Regions from separate parts of the Homo sapiens genome. Here regions 2 and 3 are each linked to region 1. The links are contacts of gene promoters, found by promoter capture Hi-C in human tissues and cell types (Jung and others, 2019). All regions are on one chromosome and are shown on one strand. Each heading gives the region's core, a stretch centred on a gene start or on the middle of the fragment in contact. The rest is flanking DNA. Distances are from core to core; before and after follow the strand shown.

Evidence for each region. The method cuts DNA at HindIII sites, captures the fragments that hold promoters and counts their contacts. A contact is called where the count stands out against the background at its distance.
Region 2: a contact is called between a fragment that was not itself captured here and the fragment with the promoter of BMP3 in region 1, in 1 of the 25 tissues and cell types used here (stomach).
Region 3: a fragment that was not itself captured here is called in contact with the fragment with the promoter of BMP3 in region 1 in 1 of the 25 tissues and cell types used here (H1 embryonic stem cells).

The regions. Positions count from the first base shown.
Region 1 is chr4:81,029,342-81,032,041 of GRCh38, reverse strand. BMP3 (bone morphogenetic protein 3) reads right to left here and starts at 1,334. Exons shown (of 3, transcript NM_001201.5): 1 at 442-1,334. The coding sequence starts at 757. The HindIII fragment of the contact is 7,363 bases long and covers 1-2,700 here.
Region 2 is chr4:80,881,372-80,884,071 of GRCh38, reverse strand. All of the region lies in intron 4 of CFAP299 (cilia and flagella associated protein 299), which reads right to left. Among named protein-coding and RNA genes, the nearest start is that of BMP3, 150 kb to the left of the region's middle. The HindIII fragment of the contact is 3,077 bases long and covers 1-2,700 here.
Region 3 is chr4:80,862,421-80,865,120 of GRCh38, reverse strand. All of the region lies in intron 3 of CFAP299 (cilia and flagella associated protein 299), which reads right to left. Among named protein-coding and RNA genes, the nearest start is that of BMP3, 170 kb to the left of the region's middle. The HindIII fragment of the contact is 3,790 bases long and covers 1-2,700 here.

The sequences.
Region 1 (2,700 bases), core at 85-2,584:
GGCATTGGCATAAAATGGCATCTGCCTCTTAGTAAACATGGCTAAAGCCCAGTCCAAAGGAATTTCCGCTGGCCGATTTAGGAATCAACAGAATAAGGTACCCTAGAGGTGCTCCAGTCACTCAGGGCAGGAGGCCTCACAGGCATGGGGTGTCGCCCCTTCCCTTTTTCCACGAAGCTCCTCCAGCCTACCCCTCCACTGCTCCGCGCCTTCATTCTATTTCCCCCTCTCACTTTGGATTTGAAAACTGGGCTTACAGGAGATGCAGCTGGCGACACGCGGGGTGTGACTGGACGGAGGAATCCAGAGGGCAGCTGAGGAGGGCGGAGAAAGGTCCCTAGGCAGCGCCACCAAGCAAGGGGCAGACAAGGAAGCTGTGGGGGGTCCCGGGAGAAAGCTGGGGCGGGACCGCGGGAAGGGAGTCTCACCTCGCGCACTCACCTGCTGCTGCCGCCCGAAAGCTGCGAACCGTGTTGCCTTCGCGCAGGAGCCGAGGGCGCCAGGGCTGCGAGCCTCCCTCCAGGGAGCCCGGTGTCCGGGCCGCCTGGACCGTGCTGTACCTGTCATAGAGCCGCAGCATGTGTTCAGAGACCTTGTCTTGCGGCTGCAGCTCGGAGTCCGGGCCACCACCTGCCGTGCGGTCACCTGGCACAGCTTTGCGGAGCTCCGGGAAAGGTGGCTTCGGTCTCTCTCCCTGCGCCAGGCTCACGCAGAAGCAGCCCAGCCACAGAAAGAGCAGCCTGCTCGCCCCAGCCATGGCTAGGTACCCGCGCGGCGCGTCGGCTCCCGGCGTCGCTGCGGGACACTCCGAAGGCGCAAGGAGCCGGCGGCGGAGCCGAGGGTTGAACTCCAAACCAGCTGGGGCGAGGGCGCACGGAGCCCGGGACGCGGCCGGGTGCAGCGAGATAGCGGCCAGCCCCACTTGCTGCGCTGACCCAGCGCAGCCTGACAGGTGGGCTCTTCCCCAGCAGCTGCGCGGACCTCACCCGCGCAGGGCGCTGCGGGCGCCGTCTCCACTCCAACGCTGAGAAAGAGCTGTAGGTCGCGGCGTGTGTGGCCCGGGTGTTTTCAAGATCTGTCTGTACCTTCCCTCCTCGCTTTATTTTTGGGAACACCCGGCCAAACTGGCCGCGCGAGGGACTAGGACTAGCTCTGTTTTGGGCGCCAGGTCGGAGCCGGGGCTGTGCGCAGCGGTCCGGAGGGCGCTCGATTGCCTTTTCCAGGGATTGGAGCAGCTGCGGCGCGGCTGGTCCGAGTTTTTTAGTGTACGTGTGTGTGTGTGTGCGCGCGCGCGCGCGCGTGTGTGCGTGTGTGTGTGTGTATGAGAGAGAGAGACTTAGTTCTTTCGCTCTCTAGCTGATCTGTAGAGTCCTCAGCCAATCTCTCCCACTCCCTCGTCCTCGCCCTCTTAGCTTGCACCAGGCTGGGATAGAAGCAAGGGAGGGGGGGAGTAACCAGAGAACTGGCAGCGGGAGGGAGAGAAGAGGAAGTAGGGGTGGGGATGGCTGGGGAGAGGAAGGGAAAAGGAGATTCAGGACTAAAGAAATGGTAGGAGGGACGGTTTTTTTGTTTTGTTTTGTTTTGTTTTTGTTTGTTTTTTTTTTTAATTCTCCAAGAACAGTGGCTGTGTGGTGGCTAGCAAGAGGGCAGAGGAAAACAGAACTTCTTCCTGGCTTTTCGGTCTTATGATTCCAAACAAAGTCACAACGTGAACACCATTCTCGCTTACTTTCCCGAGCCTCTTCTGACGGACACTGCGGGCCCCTGCACCTGCAGCCCGTCATCATAGCTTCCTGTCTTTCTGAGAGCATACCCATCATAACGCCCCTCTCTCCCGCATCATCTTCTCTCGAGGTGAGAAATATGTGCGAGTCAATATCATGTTAAAAACAAATAAGAAAACAAGCAAACACACCACAACCCCACCTACAGCTTCCCCCAAAGGTTTCCTTCCTACAGGTCCCCAAAAGGTTTCCCAGCAGGATGGTGCAGTGGTGGCTAAAAACAAGGGTGTGTGGAAGATCCCGGAGTCCGGAACAGAATGTAAGAGTCGCTAGCTTTGTCTTCCTAATTCTCTCTTGTCATGGCTGTACAATGGAGATTAAACTATGAGCAGCCTGGCGCAGTGGCTCAGGCCTGTAATCCCAGCACTTTGGAAGGCCAAAGCGGGTGGATCACGAAGTCAGGAGTTCGAGACCAGCCTTGCCAACATGGTGAAACCTCATCTCTACTAAAAATACAAAAATTAGCTGGGCGTGGTGGTGCGCACATGTAATCCCAGCTACTGGGAAGGCTGCGGCAAGAGAATGGCTTGAATCCAGGAGATGGAGGTTGCAGTGAGCCGAGATTGTGCCACTGCACTCCAGACTGGGTGACAGAGCAAACTTTGTCTCAAAACAAAAAACAAACAAACAAACAAAAAACAACTGTGAGCTAACATTTTTCTCCACACTTATGCTCTAGACATGCCTTGTTATTTATATTTCAAGTATATTACCAAATAATTTTCACAGCAAAACCCATTTTACAGATGAGGAAACTGAGGCAAAAGGATACATAGTAAGTGACAGAACTGAGATCCAAATTCAGGGAGTCTGATTTCTGGCCTCAGGCCAGATAACCACACTATTAATAGTGAAATTAGCATTTAAACTGAAGTTTCAGTGTGCAATCCATGTAAATGTTTAGTGCAGTTCTTGA
Region 2 (2,700 bases), core at 45-2,544, 150 kb after region 1:
ATGGACACATAGAAGGGAACACCACACACCAGTGCATACTGGAGGGTGAAGGGTGGGAAAAGGGAGAGGATCAGAAAAAATAACTATTGAGTACCAGGCCTAATACCTGGGTGATGAAATAATTGGTACAACAAACCTCCATGACACATGTAACAACCCTGCACATCCTGCACGTGTACCCCTGAACTTAAAATAAAAGTAAAAACAAACAAACAAACAAACAAACAAAAAAGTGGACTATTGAAGTCCTCTATTATTATTGTATTGCTATCTCTCCCTTCAAATCTGTTGATATTTGGTTCATATATTTAAGAGCTCTGAGTGCATATTTTAAAAAATTATATCCTCTTAATTCGCTTCTGTATCACTCTATTATGAACTTCTTTATCCCTTGTGAAAATTTTCTATATAAAGTCTATTTTGTCTAATATAAGATTAGACACTCCTGCTCTCTTTTAATTATTACTTTATGTAACATTTTTTTCATGAAAATGTATTCATTTTCAGCCTATTTGTGTCCTTAAAGGTAAACTGAGTCGTTTGTAGGCAGCATATGGTTGGATAATGTTTTCTTATCCTTTCATCCACTTTTTTGATTGGGAAATTTAACTATTTACATATATAGTAATTATTGATAGGGAGGACTTTTAATTGTCATTTTGTTGTTTTCTGAACATTTTGTAGTTTCTTTGTTCCTTTCTTCTTCTCTTGCTGTTTTTCTTTATGATTTCATGATTTTTATAGTGGTATGCTTTGATTCCTTCTCTTTATATTTTCTGTATCTTGCACAGGTTTAATTTGTGTTTACCGTGAGGCTAATATATGCCATCTTTAGTTATAACAGTCCATTTTCACATGATAAGAACTTAAGTTCAATCACATACAAAAACTCTCAACTTTTCTTCTTCATTCCTCTCATATGCTTAATGTTATTAGAGTCAAAATGTATAACTTTTAATATTGTATATTTATTAGCAAATTATTGTAGTTATATTGTTATGCATTTGTCTTTTAACTTTTATATGAATTGAACATGATTTATGCATCACCATTATTATATTTTATCTATATCCTTATTTTAAGCAATGAGATTTATAATTTTATGTATTTTCATGCTTCTAATCAGCATCTATTTGTGTCCTCTTCATCTTGAAGAATTCCCTTTAGCATTTCTAATAAGGCAGGTCTTGTAATGAGCTCTCTCAATTTTTGTTTTAGAGTTTTTCTCTCTCCTTCATTTCTGAAGGATAGCTTTGCTCGTATATTATTTTTGGTTGGCAGTTTTTTCTCTTTTAATATTTTGAATATATTATCTCATTTTCTTCTGTGCTACAAAGTTTCTGCTGAGAGGTATACTTATAGTCTTATGGTGATTATCTTGTATGTAATGAGACACTTTTTACTTACCACTTTTTTTTTCAATTTTTTTTTTTTGAGACGGAGTCTCGCTCTTTTGCCCAAGCCTGAGTGCAGCGGCGCTATCTCGGCTTACTGCAAGCTCCGCCTCCCGGGTTCACGCCATTCTCCTGCCTCAGCCTCCGGAGTAGCTGGGACTACAGGCGCCTGCCACCGCGCCCGGCTAATTTTTTGTACTTTTAGTAGAGACGGGGTTTCACCGTGTTAGCCAGGATGGTCTCGATCTCCTGACCTCGTAATCCGCCCGCCTCGGCCTCCCAAAGTGCTGGGATTACAGGAGTGAGCCACTGCGCCCGGCCTTACTTACCACTTTGAACTTTGCTTTTCCTTTGACTTTTATAATTTGATTACAATGTATCTTTATGTAGACTTCTTTAAATTCAACCTATTTGGGTTCCTTTGGCCTTCATGAATCTAGCTTTCCATTTCCTTTTTGAGACTGAGGATGTTTTCCATCATTATTGCTTTAAATCACTTTCTACCAATTTTTATCTCTATTCTCCTTCTATAACTTCCATAACACGTATATTGATTCTCTTGGCAGAGCTGCATAAGTTTCTTAGGCTTTCTTCAGTCTTTTTCATTCTTTTTTTTTGCTCCTCTGATGGAACAATTTAAAATAACCTGTCTTTAAACCTACTGATTTTTTATTCTGCCTGATAAAATCTGCTGTTGAGGCCTCTAGTAAATTTTTCATTTTGGTTATGGTGTTCCTCTGCCTCAAAATTTCTGGTTAATTCTTTTTCATCATTTCTATCTCCTTATTGAATTTCTCATACATTTCATCTATTGTTTTCCAGATTATGTTCAGCTGTCTATCCACGTTCTCTTGTAACTCACTGAGCACCTTTAAGATGATTATTTTGAATTCTTTTGCAATTCACAGATCTCCATTTATCTTGGGTTAGTTACTAAAAAATTGTTTTCTTATTTAAATTTTGTTATGTTTTCTTAATTCTTCATATTCCTTGTAGGTTTACTTTGTTGTCTGTACATTTAAAGAAGCAGATACCTCTTCCAAGCTTTATGTACTAGTCCAGACTCAGAGAGGCATACACACTGGTCAATAGTGCCTAATATGAGGCAAGATAGAGGCCAACTCAACAAGGAGCACACTGTAAGGCTGGAAACTTACTGGAAACTTTCTTCCCCCTGGAGGAAAAGCCTCAGTTCTGTGCTTTTTCCAATTTTATAGAGCAGTGCCAGCTATAAGACGATGTTTGTCTCCTTTCTTTGTTGCATACCTTTCCAGGGATTGAGCTCTGCTGGTTATTCAGTGCTTGT
Region 3 (2,700 bases), core at 52-2,551, 170 kb after region 1:
TGGGAGATGAAAGCATTGAGAGTTTTGGTAACTCCCAAGGATATGTAGCTAGAGAGGGGAGCATCCAAACTCACACCCAGCTTGGCTTCCCATGATATTCAGGTTCTTATCTACTGCATGATGGATAGACTTGGATTCAAATGCTGGCTCTGTCACCTACTTACTGTGTGACACTGGTAAGTTAGTAATACATTTTAAAATTTAGTTTCCTCTATAATAAAATGGGCATAATAATACCTAAATTGGTGTGTGAATTAAATAACACTATTTTGCTAAGCCCTTGGTAATGCCTGATACATGGTAAGCACTCAATAAATAATATCTATTGCTTTTGAAAACTTTTGTCATTAATGTTGCTATTGTATTTGTAGCATGTTAAGAGTTTTATAAATTCCTTAGGGGATATGGAAATGGAATAATCATATCAGAATTCCATTGCCTGGTGTATATAGTTATGTTAGGGTTGCCATACATGGTTCAGTTTCTTTCTTAAGTTTAGTTATTCACAGTTAAAACTTTTTATATAATTTGAAGCTAAAATTGAAACAAACGTTTTAGTTATTATATATATATACCTATATATACGTATATGTATATATACGTATATATAGGTATATATGTATATATATGTGTATATATGTATACACATAGGTATATATATACTTATATAGGTATATATATATATATATACCTATATATATACACATACACACACATATATACAAGACACACCCAATTGACAATAAAACCACTATTGTGGCATCCAGAATGGGGCAAATAGGTCAAAAGAGCCCCTTGAAGAATTAGGTTTATTTCAGCCTGAGTGTGATGTATTTCAGTAACTGAAAGCTTTGTTATTCAGAGCCCTATAGACTTAAGAATAATTTTAAAATGTTATAAATAATTGCTTAGGTTTAACTAAAAACATTTTTAAATAAAAGCTTTATTTAAGTATAGTTTACTTAACATAAAAATTCACAATGAAGTTTAAGTGATTTCAATGATTTTTGGTAAATTTATGGAGTTGCACAATACAACTCCAATTTAGAATATTCTCATCACTCCCAAGAGATCCCTTATGACATTTGTAGCCATCCCTATCTCCACCCCCAGCCCCAGGCAATCACTAATCTACTTTCTATCTCTATAGAGTCTCTTTTCTGGATTTTTCATAAAAGTGGAATCATACAATATATGATCTTTTTCATTCTAATAACATTTTTAATCACAGTTAATTTCCCAAAAGACACATGAAAACGATACTTTATATATTAAAAGGCTTTTAAAAATGATGATGCTATGTTTATAAAGGAAAAACTTCCAAAATTCATATTTTCCTTAGATAAAACCCTTTAATCCTATCTAGAACAAGTCAAGGTACAACCAACAAAAGCATTAAAAAAATCACATGCTATTCATTTGAAGCCATGAATACGGATCTATTTATTGGCAACCTAAGCAGAAAATACTAGTTTTTGGTTAACCATGTAAAAAATCCCCACATGAACAAGCAATGAAGAAATATCAAGACACATTGCTTCTGATATTGAAGTGGGGAATAAGACACCAAGGGGCATGTAGAATCTGAGATTTTACTGAGGGAGCCTGTGACCTCAAAAGTGAACCAATGTTAGTTGAAAAGACTTATGCAATACTTAGTTAGGTCCTCATTACCTCTCATATATTGGAAAAAGATGAATTAGAGTAAAATTTAGACCATTAATATATCATTTGGATCTTTGGCTGCTTGTCTTTTCCCAGAAGTGGATTAAAATACAAATTCATGAACTTGTTATAAGCTGACTACATGTGTTGCCTGATTTTTCTTGCCAAATACTAATGAGGGGACATAAAACTGATACATCGAAATGGGACTTTATTGACAGTGAAGCCAAAGTCACTTAAAAAAAAAAAAAAAAGCATGCTAAGCAGTATGTTGCTGTACTGAAACTGAAACATCCTTTTCCAGGGAATGAGAGCTGTCAAACAAAGCTAAGTTCTTGTGTTACCCAGAGAGCAGACTGTCAGTGTGCTCTCTGATAGAGACAAATGAAGGAATCGTTATGTGCTAGAATTTTAAATCTCTTGAATGCGCTAATGAATCATTAATTTTAGGGACCCTTCTTTTTGTTTCAGAACATAAGTGATTTTGCAAATGTAGCCTAAGTTCTCTGCGAATCAACTATTGTTTTCTAACATTTAGAAATGCCCATCATTATAAATCTCTGTGCAACAAGTTATTTTCTGAATGTTTTGTGCTGATAACTGTTTTTAAATTCTATATTATCTCAGTCAATCGCAGTTTTACATATATATATAAAATATATAATTTTCACTATTCATACAATTCACAGGGTTATGTTTAGCACAGTTCTTTGTCTTTCCTGTTGGAGGCTTGGGCTCAGAACAAGCACACTTTTATTTTCCACATCCTGTTGGCCAAAGCAGGTTGCAGGCCAGTCCAGACTCAAGAGGCAGGGCAGAGTGACTTCTTCTCTTGATGGGAGGAACCAAATGTCATTGCAAAAGGTCATGGACAAAGGACAAAGTGGATAATTGCAGCCACTTTGCAATCTGTAGTTATTTACCATAAGAAACTAAGAATTTTGCATATAGCTGGCTTGTTCATTTTGCAATGGTTGGGGATTGATTTCTCAGGGGGAATCATTGTTTTTTTCTCTCCTAGTTTATAAGACGTAT